2 separate regions of the Homo sapiens genome follow, and region 2 is linked to region 1. Evidence: promoter capture Hi-C in 16 types of primary human blood cells and fetal thymus (Javierre and others, 2016). All regions are on one chromosome and are shown on one strand. Each heading gives the region's core, a stretch centred on a gene start or on the middle of the fragment in contact. The rest is flanking DNA. Distances are from core to core; before and after follow the strand shown.

Evidence for each region. The method cuts DNA at HindIII sites, captures the fragments that hold promoters and counts their contacts. A CHiCAGO score of 5 or more calls a contact.
Region 2: a contact is called between a fragment that was not itself captured here and the fragment with the promoter of C8orf88 in region 1, in 4 of 17 cell types (naive CD8 T cells, total CD4 T cells, non-activated CD4 T cells and 1 more). The highest score is 5.4, in naive CD8 T cells.

Annotation. Positions count from the first base shown.
Region 1 is chr8:90,982,730-90,989,819 of GRCh38, reverse strand. C8orf88 (chromosome 8 open reading frame 88) reads left to right here and starts at 4,582. Exons shown (of 6, transcript NM_001190972.2): 1 at 4,582-4,706. RefSeq lists a silencer at 4,399-4,558. The HindIII fragment of the contact is 2,363 bases long and covers 2,943-5,305 here.
Region 2 is chr8:90,030,742-90,037,831 of GRCh38, reverse strand. DECR1 (2,4-dienoyl-CoA reductase 1) reads right to left here. Exons shown (of 10, transcript NM_001359.2): 6 at 892-991. Among named protein-coding and RNA genes, the nearest start is that of DECR1, 33 kb to the right of the region's middle. The HindIII fragment of the contact is 2,032 bases long and covers 2,368-4,399 here.

The DNA.
Region 1 (7,090 bases), core at 3,333-5,832:
CGGCCTCCCAAAGTGCTGGGATTACAGGCGTGAGCCACTGCACCTGGCCAAAATGCATTAAGTTTTTATTAGTTATTAAGCCTCAAGAAAGAGTTTAGGAAACGTGGAGAATTCCCTAGCTTATGTAAGGCCATGTGTTTTTTTTTTCTGGTTTCTTCCTATGTACCTGCCTAACTCCTTTATAAACTTTCCCTTCTACCTACCATCCGCCATCCACAGATCTCCTTTAACTCCCTCCTCACCAATGCAGACTTCAGTACCTGGTTTTTATTCTTATCACATGCCACTGATTTAAATGTCAATGTGAATGGCTTATCTAATACTGCAGTCTGGACTCACAGTTCTTCGTCAAGTCTAATGACCTTTATTTTCCTTTCACTTCTGGTATTCACCTCTACAGCGGCATGCTGGGTGGTTATACTCAGAACCACTCCATCTCAACTCTCACACTCAGTTATCCCACTGTCTGAAAATACACCTCTTTGAAAATATACCTCTTCTGTCCGGAAGTCTCACACTGTGAGGACTTCAGGTTTATTATTCTTTCAATTTATCATCCCTTCCTTTATTTGCCAATGAATCTCACAACCACGCAGGTAAATGCCTTTATAAATTTCTGATCTTCACCTTCAGCTGACTCCTCAACAGTGTTCACCTGTTTTCAGGTGAACATTCCCCAGAAATGCTATCTCAAAATTTGAAAGTCCTACTGCTTTCCACAGTAGACCCCTTCCACTTATACTGGATAATCTCTACTTCACCTATTCTTGCTTTTGTCCCTTCCCTTCACCTACAATCTAGATCCCATTCTCTTGTGCCTCCTCAGGCAAATCACAGTATCTTTTTATTTTTTTCCTGTATCGCTCTGGGTGCGCAAGTCAATAACTGGCATCACTATTTTCCACTTTCCACTCTCACACTCTACACTGTTAGCAGTTTTCCTTATTCTCTCAGCTATGTGTACTTTTCTTTCCTTATGGTCACTATCTACCTTTACTTATGGCTCTCAATAAACATTGCCTGGATTACTGTAAACCTCTGAACCGATTCCTCTGCCTCTCTTCTTGTCTTGCCTGATGCCTACTCTGCTTCCCAATCCATTTTTCATGTTGTCATTTAAGTAATTTTTTCCCAAATGGTCATAGAATACTATTAAACCCAAACTAAAATCCTTCAGTGTCTCTCCATATCCTTATAAAGGAGATAAAAGACACTTCATCTTTTATTAGCCTAATATCAAGCCACTACCAGGCAGTCTCTTGTATTTTGTGTTTCTGCAGTACTGAATTACTGATGTTTTATTTTATTGGCTGCTGCTCTATTCCTGTATATCTCTGGGCTTGTTCTTTCACCTGCAAGGAATACCCTTTTCTAAGTGGGTAAATGTTTTATCCTTAAAAATCCTGCTCAGGCATTACCTCCCCTGTGAACCCTTTCGTGATGTCTCTTCTCCATCCTCCTACCGTTCAACAGAAGTATGCCTTTCCATGTAGTCCTTCTTTTATTCCACGTAAACATTTCTACTACATATACTATCTTCTATTTCATATATAGGCACTATTATTAAGCTAGCGTTCTCTTCTTGCTAATTTTGCATCAGCCTTTCTCATCATATTTCAGTTTTTCTTTGTAACCTCAGTGTGTATCAGCCTTTCTCGTCGTATTTCAGTTTGTCTTTGTATCCTCAGTTTCTAGCACATAAACATAGGTCTTCAAAACCTTTGCTGAGCTGAACTGAGCTGAATGAAACTAAGTCATTATTATAGCTTTTAACACAGGGGTTTCTAACCACTGCCCTCCCCCAGACCCCAGACTGGTACTGGTCATTGGCCTGTTAGGAAACAAGCCACACAGCAGGAGGTGAGTGGCAGGTGAGTGACTGAAGCTTCATCTGCATTTACAGCCCCTCCCCATTGCTGGCATTACTGCCTGAGCTCTGCTGCCTGTCAGATCAACAGTGGCCCATAGGAGTGTGAACCCTATTGTAAACTGCACATGCGAGGGATCTAGGTCGTGTGCTCCTTATAAGAATCTAATGCCTGATGATCTGAGGTGAAACAGTTTCATCCCAAAACCATACCCCGCCCTTCCAGTCATCCACGAAACCAGCCCCTGGTGCTAACAATGTTGGGGACCACTGTTTTAACACATTCCTATAATAATTATGAGCATCTGTGTTGTGTGTTTGTTAGTGTATCCTTCATAAAATGCTTCGTAAATGTTTGAGGAATAAATGAATAAAAGGCGACTATTGGCAGGAGGTTGGCAAGGAAATCATTTGGTAAACATGAGATAATGCTACCTCTTCAGCTTTCTGAGTTGCCAGGCTTTCAGTGGCACCACCCAGATTTAACAATTAATTTACTGAGTTGAAATTGTCTGTTTGCATATCTGCACCCTCACTAAACAGCACATACCATGAGATCAAGTAACCAGTTTGTATGTGTGTGTGTGTAGTTCTAGGTACTGTGAAAGTGGAGTTAAATAAAATATGAAAATATAAGTTTAAATAAAACCTCTACTTATAAGTAGTAAGACACATTATAAATTATTATCCTTCTAACTGGGATATCTATTTCCACTGTTGCTTTTTCTCAATCCATTCTCCAATTCTTTGAGTGGCCAGAGCAGGGCAGGAAGCAGGGATGGGGGGCGGTGACCAAAGTAAATATTTACTTAGAATAAGAAAATCAGTGACAACAAATTACAGATTTTTAAAAAGATGATAAATACCACAAATATTTTAGAAATTCAGTAAAATGATATTTTAAATTAACTACCTGAACCATTGCTATGTTTTTCCTATATTTTTAGTTTTCATTTTTTTATTGCCTCATCATTTGACAGTAATTTTGTAATGCACTTTCCCTGGTGATAATGAATAATGTGGTAGTCTTTTCAAAGCAAAGTTAGTCAACATGTATTTTTTGTTATTGAAAGCTTAAAAAAGTTATTGCAGTTTCACAATTTGTTATTGGTAATAATGCCAATTTTTAGTATTGCTAAATTTGGGGAAACTCATCTTAAGGTTCTTAGGTGAACTCTGTGATTTCAGGGCACTTCAAGTTTTCTCAGGCAGTGACTAACCTTTAAGTTGCTAAAAGTCATTAACCTGTTTGTTGTCAAGTTCTTGTTGTAAAGGTATGAATTCTAGATTATCCTTGTAGATGCCAAAATTTTATGTCATTATCAATAAGATTTTGAAAAGTTTCGATATGTTTATATGGTTCATTTTTCTTCCTCAATTATCAAAAAATCAAGGAGTCTGTCTAGTCTAATTTCTCTCTTCCTCTCAATAAATTACTAATACTGATCTGAATTGGAATTCTTCCAATTTACATTTTTGTCACAATAGTTTCTACTGACTTCATACAGTGATATGCACAAAATAATTTTATTGTAAGATGTATATAAAATTATACATGCTTCATTGTTAAGTATATTCCTGAAGAAGAAAACTTCTGTTGTGACTAGATGGATGAGAACCACATCCTGCACTTAAGATTTTCTACATCTGGTGGTTGGAATATATTGATTCCACTGTGCAGACTTCTGGTGCCTCACCCCAAGGGATGCCCTTTTATCATGACCCATCTCTGACCCTGGACCCTAGGTCTCTGATGCCAGGCGAGTTGTCTCAGTGGATAGTAGGAGTGTTTCTGGAAGCCATTTCTAAACGGAGACAGCTCCAATAACTTGACTATACATGGAAGTGCTTGTGAAACTTCATACCTTCCAAAATGGTAAATCCTGATAGTGCCCCACTTAAAACCGTTCAGTGTTTGCCAGTGCATTTTCAACTGTCCTTTTGGTGCTTGGGGACGTGAGGGACTGCCACCTCCACGTCCCTCAGTACAAGCAGACAGTCCCCCTCTGGGGACACTCAAAGATAATGAAAAATTAGCAAAAGGATTGAAGGTGAAGATTAAAAAGAAATGATTCGGATGGAGTTGCCTTAATTCATTTTGTTCCTTTCAGGATGGCAGTCTGTGTGAAACGCTGTATCCCTGGTCTGAGGTAAACCAGGTCTCAAACATCTTCCTCCCTGCCAACCCGAATCCCGACACCCACTAAATGCACCAAGGGGAAAGCAGCGCCTGCCAGCAGCTCTGACGGGGGACAGGAGTAGGGTGGACTCAGTCGTCAGCACGACGGCGGCCTCCCTCACAGAGGCGGCCTCCCTCACAGACGCTGCCTGGAACCCGCCGCCAAGCCCCCAGCAGGCGGCCCGCCTGGCGCCTCCCAGTCTTCGCACAAGCAGGGCCACGGTCTGGGGCCCCCAAGGCCGTTCACGCGGGCGCGCCCCGTCGAGGGCTAGCCTGTCAGCGCCTCACTCGCGGCCTCCTACCCTAGACGACCGGCTCTGGGTGGCGCCGCTCCAACCCCACGCGCCCAGCTCGCCCGGGAAAGCGCGCGCCACCCTTTTAACGGTTCTACCCCGGCAGGGGTGCGGCTGCTCTCGAGGCTCAGCGCCCGAGGCCACGCCCCGCGCCCGCCCTGGGCCCGCCTCGTGCCCCTCGGAGCCGCCTCCCGCCCCGCCCCCCGCCCCTCGCCCCCCGCCCCTCGCCCCCCGCCGCCGCCACCGCGGTCAGCCAGCGGACCAGCGGCAGGAGCCGTTCCCCGACGGGCAGCAGGGCGCTCGGCCTCCGCGTGTGGGCTGAGCGCGGCGACGCTGCTGCCCCGAAATCCCCGTGGATTTTGAGTCGGTAAGTGGCTAGGGAGGATGAGCGACACTGGGGGACGGAAGTCGGGCCCCGTGGTGTGGAGGAGGCGGGTGGGCGCCGTCTCCCAGGCCCGACCCCGGGAAAGTTGAGGCGAGGAAGAGAAGCTCTGAGGTGGGTCGGGAAATCTCTCAGGGCCCCTTCAGTACCCTGTGGACCCTGAATGGGAGTGGGATGGGAGCGAGAGCGTCGGATGAGGGGAAAGAAAGTGTAGGGGGCCAGGGGAGCCCGACGGAGGGGCAAGTGGCCGAGACCAAAGCCATCGCCAAAAAAGGAGCTAAGTACACAGCTCCCCTTGGCTCTGCCCCAGCACCTGGTGCCAGGCGGTGGGAGGCTTTCAAGACGATTTGCCCCCTCCACCCGGTGGCACAAGGTTTTCATTGCTGGTGTTTTAGTCAAAGCTACGGAAAGGACAGTTACATGACTAAAGTAATCACAGACACCTATTACCTGGACAGCTTTAGCCCATCCGAATGTTAAATTGTGTTTTGTTTTGAGAAATCCCTCAAATAGACCAAAAAAAAAATTAAATTAGTTATAAAGAGAAGGCATGAAATGGAAGATATGTTGGAACTCTCCAAGCTTCTAGTTTTTTGATATTTTCGTTTTAATTTTTCCTTAATAGTGCAACCAGATATATGGAACGTGAAATGTCTTTCACCACTTGAGTCATAGGTGGTTTATTTCTTACTCCCCGATGTTTCCTGTATGTTTCTCTTCATCTATCATTTTGTCAGTGTGAGCAGTTTACTTACAAGCAGTATTGGGTTTCAAGGAATCCTAACTTTGTAATGTTTTGAAGTTGGAAATTGAGATGAAATTTTATCTGGTTATCATATGGGAATTATACACAAGGTAAATTCAAATATGGTCTTTTCATTTCATTATTTCACTTTATATGATCTTATTTCTCAACGGCAGCGGTAGCATCAGTACTTTCCAAAGAAGACTAGAATTTATATTGGAGTTTAAGTATAGTACTCAGCTTCTAAAAACAGTGCATAGTATATTTCATATGCTGTGATCTATGGTTAGTATGGCAGTATACCATGTCTGTAGCGTGAGGAAAGCACAGTACTCCCTAATTTATTTAGTATTCTAAGAAAAATGGTAAATTGAAGAAATGGATATTATTAGCATATACCAATTTATTCTGCATGGCCTTATAAATAAATGTTACTTTTCACATTAATTTTTAAATCTATACACGCAGTGTCCACATGTAATAAATGGACAGTCAGATATCTTTCTTTTATGTAACAAATAGGCAAGTTTTGATATAAAGGTGTGAACTTTGTAGTCAAATCCTAATATCTAGCACTTAGTAGCTATGTGGACTTGGGCATGTCTCTTATTTTTCTGAGCCTCAGGTTTCTTATCTGTGAAGTGGGACTAATAATAATTTTCTTCCACCGTTCATATATGGCTCAAAATTAAATGAAATTATATTTAGTATGTAGTAGGACCTTAAAAAGGCATCTTAATTAAAAAATAAGATTAATAAGATTTTGGCCAAAGTGGTCAATGTATCTGCTTATTATCCCATTGTATTTTAGACAATTCTAGGTTTACTGGTAATATCAGGACTGATAAGGCCTGAAGATTCATACTTAGGTAAATTTTTTAAAAAGAAAAGGAACCTAAGATATAGTTAGTATTGCCAGGTGTAGAATAGCAACTGTAAATAACTAACTGATTTACCAATATTCTATTCATACAACTTGGTCTTTAAAGATGATTTGTTAAGTGTGTGTGATCTTGAAAAAAACTATTCAGCAACCATTTCTCAGTATGTATTAATAGAAAGTTTTTTTGGAGACATTGGATCAAAATATCCTTTAAAAAACATTTATACCACAAAACTATACATTTACATTTTTAAATTTACATTTTACAACCTTATGATAGGCCCACTACTTGCTACCCAATGTTGTAGGCAGAATTCTGTTTATTTTGTAACTGTGCTTTGAATCGTTGATATGATACATGGCTACTCTAGGTAGCACCAGTAGCTTCAAGGGAAACTTTTTGATCTCTACATTCCATGGATGAAGCAGGCATTAGAGTTTAAGACTGAATTTGTTTTGTATAATGACTTTGTAGTGCAGTTAAGTCTTTATTATTTTTAACTAAACTGAGAATTAGGTTTTGGTTTATGGAGTTCTGCCTTAATTATAATCTCGTGACTCAGTTTTACAATAATAATTACTTTTTATAAATACTTAACCTTTTTCATTAATAACATGATGGTGGAATGTACTATGCATTGTAATCCCAAACTTGTCCCCTATAATGTCAGTGTTTCCCTGCAGGCATCGTTTACTTTAAAAAAAAATATTAAACAGAGTACTGAATGACACCATCTTTTC
Region 2 (7,090 bases), core at 2,134-4,633, 950 kb after region 1:
ACAAGCAATGAAATGATGAGAAGCCCCATTATAATAAAGACAATGGAAAAGGCCAGTGGAGGACAAATTCAAAAAGCAATCATGGCTGGGTGTAGTGGCTCATGCCTGTAATCCCAGCACTTTGGGAGGCTGAGGCAGGAGGATTTCTTGAGGTCAGGAGTTCCAGACCAGCCTGGGCAACATAGCAAGACCTCATCTCTACAAAAAAATTTTAAAAATTAGCCAGGCGCTGTGGCACCTGCTTGTAGTCCCAGCTACTTGGGAGGCTAAGGTGGGAGGATCGCTTGAGTCTGGGAGATTAAGGCTGCAATAAGCTGTGATTGCACCACTGCAATCCAGCTTGGGCAACAGACTGAAGTCCTGTCTCAAAAAAAAAAAAAAAAGCAGTTATACTCTGCTGAGAAAAGGCCACTGGACTTGGGAAGTGCTCATAGTCTGTGTTAGTCCCATTAATCTTATACAGTATCTACAATAAAAGAATAAACGTGTGCTTATGAGAGGGGTTAGGGATGGCACTGATAAAGATCTATGGGAGAGCAAAAAAGCTATAGTCCTGTGGTGTCTAATATGTAGCCACTAGCCATATACAGCTACTAATTTTTAAAATTTAGTTTCTCAGTCACAGTGGGATATTCCAAGGGTTCAATATCTACATGTGGATACTGGATAGTGCATATTTACAGAACATTTACATCACTGCAGAAAGTTCCACAGGACAGCGCTGCTATAGACAAATAGGACTTATCTGGGAGATAAAATGTATGTCTCATGGTGAATCCAAGTCTTTGTTTACTTTTCTCTGGATGGACACCAGAAAGCAGGAATACAGTTCCCTGAGCCACCAACTGTATTAGTTATGTTCAGCAACAGGATTGACAAGGAAGTACTTACTTGCTCATGGCTTCCACACCTGCTTTGGCAGAAGCACTTGGTACTACAAAACCTGAACCAGTCTCAGCATAGATAGTAGTAATAGAAAGAAATGCTGCTCCTGAAATTTTAAAAGGATACAGTTGATTAGCAATATAGATGTATCACTACACATAAGGAAAACATTATTTATAAAAATGGGATCTGATTAAAGAGGGTATAAGAAAAACTAAAGTATTTTTTAAAACTTCACTCACTCTAAATTAATGAGAGAGTAACCTAAGAAAATTGATATGTCTTGCTACTAATCTTATGATTTAGGATGGCCCAATCTGCACTTACTTGGAATGTATGCCTGGCGAGTCAATACGAAAGCCCAAATCTCAGAGGCATGCCCCTATTGCACCTTGTATAATCAGCTGGTCAGGATTCCCATTAACTAAGTACTACTTGAATAAGAATAAATCAGAATTAAACTTAAACTAGCAGGGACTTCTGCCTCCAGCCATAATGAACTTACCCTTCTGCTGTAAACATCAAGAAAACTGAGTAAGACATATGCTACAATTATATACAGATACTGCACAGCAGGCAGGGAAGGACTATGACTCTGATAGAAGGAAAATGACTAAGCCCTGAGATACCCTAGCTTTTTGCCTAAAGATACTATATAGATGGAAGGATGAGGAGGAGGAATCTAAGCAGAAAATGGCATTCACACTGAGTTAAGAAGATAGAGATCGGTTTGGGGAGCCTGAGGAAACTAAGGTTTCTAAGAGTTCCTCCAAGGAGGAAAGTAGGCAGAGATATTAATAGAACTCCATAAAGCTGCATGGAGTCTCAAAGAGTCTTTAGACAAATAAGCTGTACATGTTTAGTGTGAGATTCCATTGAGGCCAGGCAAAGAACAACTACTAGGAAGCTGTAAGTGATGCAATTCCCAGAGCTTGCATAGGGCTGGGAGACATGGGAGTTCTAAGCAGCTTCACTGAACATCCAGAGCTTTCAGTAGAGAGCTCAGAAAAAAAAATGCCTTAGTAGGAGGGTTAAATTAGCCCCAAAGTAAGGACTACTATATACTTGCTGAAATAAAGCTTTAAAATGACCCTTAAAAATGATTAGGCTGATGCATAAGTAATTTAGAAGCTTTCCAAAATAAAAAAAACCACACACCTCAAAAGAAAATTAAAATACACACAGACACAAACACAGAACAACAACATAACATTCACAGCATGCAATAAAAAATTACTGCACATAAAAAGACACAGAAACCTAACAAGGAGAAAAATGATTAATAGACAAAGAGTCCCAGAAATGACAGAGAAGACAGATGTAGCAGACAAACAGCCTTTTAAATGCTATTACAAATATTTTAAAAGATTTCACTGAAAATATTTATATGATGAGAAAAATGGAAAATACAAAATAGAAACCAATATGGCTTCTACAGCAGAAAAATACAGCATCTGAAAGGAAAAATTGAACAAATAAGCTTAGCTGTAGAAGAAAAGATCCATGAATCTGAAGACACAGCAATATAAACTATCCAAAATGAAAGACAAATGGGAAAAAAAAAACTGAGGAAAAACCCAGAACCTCACTGACCTATGGAACAGTATCTAGCATTCTAACAAACGTATAGTTAGAGTCACAGAGGAAGAAAAAGCACTTGAATAAGGACTAAAAAAATTCCGAATTTGGTAAAAACTATAACTTACAATGCAGAAAGCTAAATGAATCCCAAGCAGGATAAACAGGGAAAAAAATCAATACATTATCATAATCAATAACTGAAAACCAATGATATATAGAATCCTAATTGCAGCCAAAGGTAAAAATAAGCAATAAAAATACACAAACACAGACAAAAATTTTCATTGTCTTCTCATTTCTAAAAATAATGTAAGCTAGAAGACAATGGAGTTATATTTTTAAGGTGTTGAAAGATAAAACTTAACTCTGAATTCCATATCCATCAAAAATACCCTTCAAAAATCAAGGTGATATGAAAATGATATTATAGAGAAACTGAGATTGTCAAAAGGAAAGAAATAGTAAATATGTAGGTAAATATAAAATATTTTTTCTTGTTTTCTAAATTTCTTTTTAAAATGATTGTATAAAAGCTATATTACAAAGTGATACTGCATATACAGTGGTCAATAGTGTCTAGGACACAGCAGGTTCTCAATAAATTAACTGAATAAGGCCAGGCACAGTGGCTCATGCCTGTAATCCCAGCACTTTGGGAGACCAAGGGGAGCAAATCACCTGAGGTCAGGAGTTCGAGACCAGCCTGGCCAACATAGTGAAATCCTGCCTGTACTAAAAATACAAAAATTAGCCAGGTGTGGTAGGGCATGCCTGTAATTCCAGCTACTCAGGAGGCTGAGGCAGGAGAATCACTTGAACCCAGGAGGCAGAGGATGCAGTGAGCCGAGATGATGCCAGTGCACTCCAGTCTGGGTGACAAGAGTGAGACTCCATCTCAAAAAATAAATAAATAAACAAACAAACAAATAAATAAATAAACAAATAAAGGCTTAAAAGGGTAATCTTTAGGTCCTGAGAAATCAGTGATTTCTCTACTTCTTATTTATTCATAACACGGGATAAGACAATACTTAATATTTGCAAAAGGATCAAAATAAGTTTACATCTTTTACATAACAGCAAATACTTTTAGAAATTTAAATTTGAAGGACTACAAGGAAAGTATTTTGAAGAATATTCAGATAAGTTTTTTCTCTGCTCCATATATTTAGTTTCTCTTTCTCTCAGCATGTTCCAGAGTAGAAAGAAAACTCAGCACATCCTGGGAAACACGGGGGTGGAAGAGGGGGCAGGAGTACCATTTTGAGGATAGGAAAAAATAAGAATGGTTATGTTAATCATTCTGGTAACTCCTTCTATATATCAAACAGCCTTTCAGATTGCTGAAAATTACTTTGCTTCCAAAATCGTACTCCATGAAAGAGGAGGGATGTAGAACATTAGTGGGCTCCATTACAGTACATTGACAACAGATGCTAACTGTATCATTCTTATAGCAAAATTACAAAAGAAAAAAAACTGCTTTAAAAGTGGCAAATACAAAGCAAATGCTCCAATGGAAAGTGCACTATCTTTCAACTAAGACTGAACAAATACATTTCTCCAAGTGTGGGAAAGGAGTTAAGCCATCCTACTACAATTTAGATGCTGAAATGAAAGTTATTTTACTATTCTTTTTATCCCTTTAAGGTTTTATTTTCTCAGCCTAGAAAATTTGGGTAGCCCACCTCTTAGAATAATATACTGCAGCTTTTAATTCTCATGAGTGTAAAAGGGAGATAAAGGTTTGAAACTGCACTGTTCCAATAGCATTAATGCTGCAAGGTGAAACAATTATCGGCTTCAAAAAAATGAACAGTGGTGCTAAAGTGCAAAGTAAAGAATTCCTAGATCCCCAGGGTTAGTCACATATATTTTCCTTCTTGTACAGAGGCCCATTATTTCAGTTAGAATAACTGCTCATGGAAAAGCTTTATAAAAGTCAAGTTTCTAACAGCTCAGAGCAGACAACAGAAATGAATCTATATTATTAATGAGGTTAAGAAAATAGAGAAGGGAAGCAATAAATGAAATAAATATTATGTTAGTCCATCCTTTGTTATTTTGAAATGGAAAAAAATAGTAATAAAAGAACATCAAAAATCATATTATCTATCAAAAAAGCTATGATATGTGCAAGATTATGATCTAATTTCAAAAGAAGATTCAAAAGTTCTAAAATCTGGTTTCAATACAAACTATGAATTGAAAGAATCACTAAACAAATTTAGTTCCAATGACCAACAGAAGGGGAATAGTATAGACACCTGGGCTCAGAAACTGATTCCACTATTTACTAGCTGTGTAGCTATGAGACTGGGGAAGTCGCATCCCTGCTCTGGACCCTAGATTTATCACCTGTAAAACAGGAACATAGGGCGTATCCAGCAAATGTCATTAGATTCTAAGGATTACTTGTTAATTTACTGCTGTTGTTGATTCCACCTATTACTCTTCCGCTCTCATGCAAAAAGACTGCCATTTACTAGCTGTGTATTAATAATTTGGCAAGTTGCGTTAGGAAACATCACCAGAATGGAAGGTAACTCCAACAGGCAACCCAGCCCCCTAGTTTCACAGACACATCCAAGAATTTGTTGAACGGCCGGTAGGTCAGGGCTGCTACACATGGTTGAGCAGTGCATAAGGGTGCCATATCTAAGGAAGCATGTTTTACATTACAGATATTACATGATTATTTACTTATTTCAAAATATTCTTGTTGTTCTGAGGGTTTCCTTTCTAACAAGATAAGAAATATATGTGGGCAGAATGGCCCCACTTAAAGATCCCATGCCCTAATTCCTAAGAACTGAATTTCTTATTTTACTTGGCAAAATAACTTTGAAGACATTAAGAAAGATTACAGGATTTAAGAGAGGGGCCTTTCTGGGATTATCCAAGTAACACAGTCTAATCACGTGAACTCTTAAAAACAGACAACTTTCTCTGGCTGTAGTCAGAAAGATGAATTTTAAGGAGCAGGCAAGAGAGATGTGGTAGAAGAGAAAGTCAGTCCCTAAGCATGAGAAAGACATATTGTGGTATTGCTGGCTCTGAGATGTACCAGTCCCTATGTAAGGATCAGAGAGAGGTCCCTAGGAGATAGGGTGGCCCTAAGCTGACAGTAACCATGAACATATACACTTCAGTCCTACAACCACAAGAAACTTGATTCTTCCAACGACCTAAATGAGCCTGGATACAGACTCTTTCTAGAGCCTCCAAGACATGAGCTCTGCTGGGTGACTCCCTGATATTAGCCTATAAGATCTGAAGCAGAGAAACCAGCCAAGCAACTCTGTGCATTTACTTGAAAAAAACAGAATTATAAAATTATAAGCATATGATATATTAAGCTGTTAAGTTTGTGGTCATTTGTGGTCCCCACAATGGGGGACTAGTATAGTGTATTATGTCAACTTTCCAACAAACAGAAATAAAGTATCTTAATTTTTTTTTAATCCTTGTTTAACTTTACCTATCACCGAAGGATAAAGACCACATTGCTTGGCCTCATCTCCTACCCCTCCAGGCATTATATGTCACATATAAGCAACACTGAACTCCTTGTATGCCTAAATACACAACTGAGCTGTTGGTTGCAGTTCTAACTCTTCTACTATTATTGCTAGCAATTAATCTTACTGACAATCATGGTAAGAAGACAAACTTCTCTGTCTTTTTGATGAGGGCACAGAGGATACCTGTCTCCGAGCCATTTTTCAATGAGAGCCCATATGAAAATCTAAAAATCCTTAATTCTCTAAAAGCTACTCAAAATAGGACTATAACATTTAAAAACTAGAATAACCCTACATAAATAATATTATCTACTAAGGAAACACTTTTCTCATTTAAACATTTAATATAAATATGTCCCTCATGTAGGCTGCTATTTTTAAGTTTAATTATAGTAAGAAGGGATATCAGGGCTCTGGTTTTTCTAACTAATTTTAATTATGAGTCAAAACCTAAGTTTCAGATAGTTGATAGTCCCCTTGTAAAAGACGTGGTAAAAATACATTTATCTTGGAGGAAACTTAACATTTTCTTTCATAACTAACATTTATTGAGTACTAGTCTGCCCCGGGAACTATTCTTAACACTTTATAGACACTAGCTCTTATAATCATTACAGCAATCCTAGGAGGAAGGCTTTATTATCAACATTATTTTACAGAAAAGACAGGCACAGCAAGCTAATCTGTCCAAGTTGATAGGACTAATAAGTATTAACCAGGATTGGAACTTGGCAGTTAAGCTCTAGAGCCTGCACTCTTAACTACTATGTAACTACTACTGCCTTGCCAAGAAATTTCTAATTACTACTTAGAAAGAAAAACTAATTTATTTTCAAAATTCTCAAATCGCTTTACCTTTACCTTATCTTCAAAAAACATCAAAATAAGGTACACAGTTGCTCTAAGAAATTTTAACAGATGAGGTTGAACTCTCCCATCAAACGAGATGACTCTAGAAAAAAGTGATTTCAAAAGGATACTAATACCACCTTAATAAATTTCAACTGATAACTAAAAATGTGTTTTCAAATATTCTTTAGATGCACCCACTGTTCTAGAAAAAAACAAAATCTCTGGACACAATATAAAGAAATGTACTT